Linked DNA regions of Homo sapiens: region 1 is linked to region 2. The links are contacts of gene promoters, found by promoter capture Hi-C in human tissues and cell types (Jung and others, 2019). All regions are on one chromosome and are shown on one strand. The core of a region is centred on a gene start or on the middle of the fragment in contact, and the rest is flanking DNA. Distances in the headings are between cores, read along the strand shown.

Evidence for each region. Contacts are between HindIII fragments. The study calls those that stand out against the background at their distance.
Region 1: a contact is called between a fragment that was not itself captured here and the fragment with the promoter of MARVELD1 in region 2, in 1 of the 25 tissues and cell types used here (hippocampus).

The regions. Positions count from the first base shown.
Region 1 is chr10:97,455,576-97,458,275 of GRCh38, reverse strand. ZDHHC16 (zDHHC palmitoyltransferase 16) reads right to left here. Exons shown (of 12, transcript NM_198046.3): 10 at 2,493-2,616; 11 at 2,232-2,302; 12 at 906-1,499. The coding sequence ends at 1,385. Among named protein-coding and RNA genes, the nearest start is that of ZDHHC16, 11 kb to the right of the region's middle. The HindIII fragment of the contact is 5,805 bases long and covers 1-2,700 here.
Region 2 is chr10:97,712,371-97,715,070 of GRCh38, reverse strand. It overlaps MARVELD1 (MARVEL domain containing 1), which reads right to left and starts at 1,341. Exons shown (of 2, transcript NM_031484.4): 1 at 1-1,341. The coding sequence starts at 1,194. The coding sequence ends at 673. RefSeq lists a silencer at 450-669 and an enhancer at 980-1,029. The HindIII fragment of the contact is 16,034 bases long and covers 1-2,700 here.

The DNA.
Region 1 (2,700 bases), core at 37-2,536, 260 kb after region 2:
GAGGCATCACTGGAATAACAATGACAGGGATTGGCCAAAAATTTTTCAGGGTAACCAGGACAGTAGCACATGCCTGTAACCCCAACACTTCAGGAGGCTGAGGCAGGCGGATCACTTGAGGCTAGGAGTTTGAGACTAGCCCTGGCAGTATAGCAAGAACCCATCTCTACAAATAATTAAAAAAAAAAAAAAATTAAGCTGGGCATGGTGGCTGACGCCTGTAATCCCAGCATTTTGGGAGGCCGAGGCGCATGGATCAGTGGAGGTCAGGAGTTCAAGACCAGACTGGCCAACATGGTGAAACCCCATCTCCACTAAAAATACAAAAATTAGCCAGGTGTGGTGGCATACGCCTTTAATCACAGCTACTTGGGAGGCTGAGACACAAGAATCACTTGAGCCGGGCGCGGTGGCTCACGCCTGTAAAGCTTGTAATCCCAGCACTTTGGGAGGCCGAGGCGGATGGATCACAAGGTCATGACATCGAGACCTCCTGGCTAACACAGTGAAACCCCGTCTCTACTAAAAATACAAAAATTAGCCGGGTGTGGTGGCGGGCGCCTGTAGTCCCAGCTACTCGGGAGGCTGAGGCAGGAGAATGGCGTGAACCCGGGAGGCGGAGCTTGCAGTGAGCCGAGATCACACCACTGCACTCCAGCCTGGGTGATATAGAGCGAGACTCCGTCTCAAAAAAAAAAAAAAAAAAAAATCACTTGAAACTGGGAGGCGGAGGTTGCAGTGAGTCAAGATCGCGCCACTGCATTACAGCCTGAGAGACAGAGTGAGACTCCATCTCCAAAAAAAAAAAAAATGTAGGAAGCATGACCAGAACACCTACTCACTAGGTCTTGACCCTGACTTTCCCCTTCCCTGCCCTATCGTGAGGCAGAGAGTGAGAAGCTACATATCTTTAAAAATCGAATACCTTTATTTGTGCTCCCTTAAGCAGCATGTGAGAAGTGGCAGTGACCTCAGCAGCAGGCCTGGTATCTTTGCCCTGTTGAGAAGCCAAGATCTCAGCTGTACTAGTCAGGTGTTTTTTCAGACAGCAAGTAGAAGAGGTGGTGGCCAACTCCAGTGCTGTATCCTGGAGGAGGTCCGGGTCAGCACTGGGCAAGGTAGGTAGCTAGCTGCCTGACCCCTAGTCTGGGGTTGGAACTTCTGTTTGCCTGAGTAAAGGGATGTCAGTCCTAAGATTTCTCCACATTGTGTCTTTCTTCTGCAGTGGTAAAAAGGCTGGTCCTTGAATTGTCCTGCATGGTACCCTAAGGCAGGCCCACTGGCTCTTTTTGATCAAGGATTCTGAGAAAAGCTGCCCTTGGAGGCCCTTGAAATAACATAGGGAGCAGAATGAGTGCTCGAGTCGTGGCTGACACAGTCCAGCTCACACTGCCATCACAGAGGCTGAGTGAGCAGTCACCCAGGGAGGGGGCTCCCAGCTCATTCCATTCCCATGGGGCAAGTGACTAGAAGGTAAGAGCACCCGAGTAAGCCAGTGCCTAGAAGAGAAGAGAGAAATGTCTCTGAGTTCAAGAATTCTTGGTCCTTCCCAATCATCATTCCTTAACAAGCATACATCAAGGTATCCTGAAGCTACCTCGGTGTCAATCATGAAAGTAACAAAAGTTCTAATTTCTGCTACCCAATTTTATCCAACAAATGTACCTTTTGGTCCTTTGAAGGCCTTTTAAGGTTTCGAGCTAAACTTCTAAAGGTCCACTGTAAGCACAGTGATAGGAGTGTCATGTACATGGGAAAGGGAGGAGGGAAGGCACGTCTGTTCATCTGATTGTTACCGCCTCAGTAACTGCCATTTGAAAAATTGTTTCCCCTTGTCTTGGGCTGAGAGAGCTAGCTCCAGTTACTGTCTTAGGGCCTCTATGACAAGTAGATTATTTTAATCTCACAAATTATTGGCTTGAACTCTAGACACTGCTCTCCAAGTGAGAGGTGACTGGTGGCCACCATATCCTACACCCAGAGGCCCCTTCCTGAGCACAGCTTTCCTAGGATTCCACTGTAGTCACGTTGAAGCCTCATCTGTTACTTAAAACCACACAGTATTGGCCTCAAGCCTTTCTGGTTCAAATGGACAATGATCTCTATTCCTAGAGTCTAGAACTGTGCTAACACAGTAGCCACTAGCCATATTCCAAGTGCTCACAGGCATAGAACATCTTTCTCATCACAGTGTTCTGTTGGACAGCATTAGTCTGTGTGTCTTACATTACCTTCCTGTATCCACACCCAGGAATACCTTCCAGTTGTCCAAGCAGCCGTAGTTGTAAGGATTCCTAAATACCTGGAGCCAAGAAAAACATGTTTCTTTGAACTTCTAATTTTTCAGACTAAATTGGCTAAGCTAAAGCTCAGATAGAGTAGTTCTGGCCTTTTACAATGCTTGCCCTAGTCAGCCCTGCCCATGGCCTCTGTTTACAGGAGAGCAAGTTCAGTTACCCACCTACCCACCCCGAGCCTTCAACCCTACTCACTCTGCCCTTGGCCTGTAGCCGACGTCTCTCCTTCTTGTTGATGTGCCTTTCGATGCTAGTCTCACCTCGACTGATGAGAACAGCATGCCATACAGTTAGGGCACCCAGGGCAAGTGCCACAGAACTAAGAAAAGAGGGGCGAAGACTGGTGGGTAGTTTAGAGAGGGCTGGAGGAAGTATGTCTGAAATTGAGCTAAGCAGTAACAAC
Region 2 (2,700 bases), core at 92-2,591:
CGGCTTCTCCTATCGGTCCCCACCTCGGCGGATGGGCCCCACCCCAAGACAACCGAGCACAGAGAGACCGGCTGGGAGGAGCTTCGCAGGATGCCAGCACAATCCCCAGCTAAAACCAAACTCGTCGCTCATCCTGGGACCAGCCAAGGCCTGTCCTCAGCTCCGCCCGCGGCCCAGCGCCTGCGTTTTACAGCACCGGAGGCTGGATGAGGGGCCAGGGAAGGGAGTGCTCTTCCGACCACGGGGCGGGAGGGAAGGGGGCAGCCAGAAGCCTGGTTCCAATTTGGGAGCCTCCCCCGGATCTGCGCGGCCCCTGTCCACGTCTTAGTCTCAGCAGGGAAGGGAAGAGGAACCGCGAGGTTTCGCCTCGGGGCGGCTCGTCTGCGAGTGTGTGTCAGCCCCTCGGATCGCAGCCTGCGCTTGTCCCGGGAGACGGCGCGTCCGGCGCGGCGGTCGGGATTCTGGGCTGGGATTCTGGGCGGCGGCGGCGCTGCCGTCGGGCGGGAGCTGAGCGTCAGGGTTCCCGGGCGCGGGCGACAGTGGAAACGCTGGAGGGCAGGGAGAGGGTGCCAGGGCGCACCCGCGCGGGGCGGCGGCGGGGGAAGGGATTAAGGAGGCTGGTCTCCGGGGATTCCCCCGCCCCGATCGGGGCCGCGGCGGGCGCGGGCGGCCTCACGCCACCTCCTGCTTGCCCTGGCAGCGACGCCCGCAGCCATAGAGCGCCGAAAGCAGGTAGAGGCCGTGGCAGACGCCGCCGCAGACGGCGGCCGCCAGGAAGGCGTGGTAGGCGCAGGGGAGCGGGTAATCCTTGAGGTTGCAGTAGCTGTGGCGCTGCATCTGGTCGCTCATGATGCCGGTGGCGGCGCCGTAGAGCGCGGCCGCCAGCACATCGTGCGCCACGTTGACCATGAGCCAGCGCGAGCCCAGCACGGGGACCAGCTCGTGCTTGCCCAGCAGCGTGAGGAAGTAGAGGCCCAGGGTGAGCAGCCAGAAGAGCACGGACACGAAGAGCGCGAAGTGCACGGGGCCCTGGTACTTGCTGGTGGCGATAGTGATCCAGAAGGCAGCGCCGGCCAGCAGCTGCAGCAGCCGCAACACGCCCAGCGGGCTGCGCAGGAAGGGCCGCTGCAGGCGCACCGCGCCGCGGGCCGCACGCGCCTGGGGCGGCGGCTGGCGCGGGGGCGGCGGGAGCATGGCCCCTGGGCGCGGTGGCGGCGGCGGCGGCGCCCCGAGCAGCGGAATGGCGGCGCCTTGCTCGCGGGGGCAGCACGGCCCAGGTGCCCGCTGCGCCCGCCGCGGCCTCCTCGCCTTGCTCCCCTCTTAGTCCTCTCTTCCTCTCCTCCTTTCCCCACCCTTCCTCTCCTCTCTCCTCCCCTCGGCCCTCCTCGCCTTCTGTCTCCAGCTCTCCACCCTTCCCACCCGCCCCTTTCCCTTCCCCTTCCCCTCGGCTGTCTCCTCCCCCGCGCGCTCCTCCCGGCTTCCTGCCATCTCTCTTTCCATCTCGCTCACCACCCTGGCGCCCCCCTTTCCCCTCTGCGCCAGGCCCCCAGCTCGGATTCCTTCGTCCTCGGGCCAGGGCAGGGCGCATCTCCCAGCCCGACGCGGGCCTTCCGCCCTGTCCGCCCGTGCGCTGCTGCGCCAAGTTTGCCACATCTGGGGCCGCCCCTGCCCGCCCTGCCTCCTCCTTTTCCCTCTTTCCTGCCATAGCGCCCACCCCGGGCCTCTGGGCTCTTCCTGGGCGCGGGAGGAGAGCAGTGCTGGTTTTGAACTGGCATCCACTGTCACCTGGACATCCGCAGTCTCCTGCCAGGGCCCGCCTCGTCCTGTCCAAAGCTGTCCGAGTTACCCATGTCGGAGTAAGAGTCCATCACCCACCAGAGGCACCGCCACTCGTTCCACTCGGCACAAGCTTATTGTCCACACCCTCTTTTATCCAACCCTTCCTTGCCATCCTTCTGTCTTGCCCACATTCAAAATACGCTACCTAACATGGCTGGGACACAAACCCAGGGCCAAGAGGAAGCAAAGCCCACGGACTTAACTACTAGGCCGAACTGCCTGTGATGGAGGCTAACGATGCTTTACATTATTATTATTCCGTGCCACCGCTTTACCTGAGTTCTCATTTAACCCTCAAAACAACCACAGAGATACACGCAACTCCCCTCATTTTGCTGAGGAGGAATGAAGCCTACCTGGGTTCAGACCAGGAAGCTGGTAACTACCACCAGTCTCTCTTCTCTCCTTCATGCTCAACCTTTGTGCCCATGGCATCTTTCTTTTTTCTTTTTCCTTTTTTTTGTGGGGGGGGGGGTGGGGGGCGGTGGGGTAGAGTACTGTTCTGTCGTCCAGGTTGGAGGGCAGTGGAGCAATCTCTGCTCACTGCAACCTCCGCCTCCCGGCCTCAAGTGATTCTCCTGCCTCGGTCTCCCAAGTAGCTGGGACTACAGTCGCGAGTGCCACCACACCCAGCTAATTTTTGTATTTTTTTTAGTAGAGACAGGGCTTTGCCATGTTGGCCAGGCTGGTCTCGAGCTCCTGACCTCAAGTGATCTGTCCCCCTTGGCTCCCAAAGTGCTGGGATTACAGGCGTGAACCACCAAGCCAGGTCATGACATCTTTCTAAAAGACAGACCTGATGTTTGTTACACTGCTTCCCCTACTGAGACAGGACAGAAGCTGTCTCTTCTGTGTGGCCTA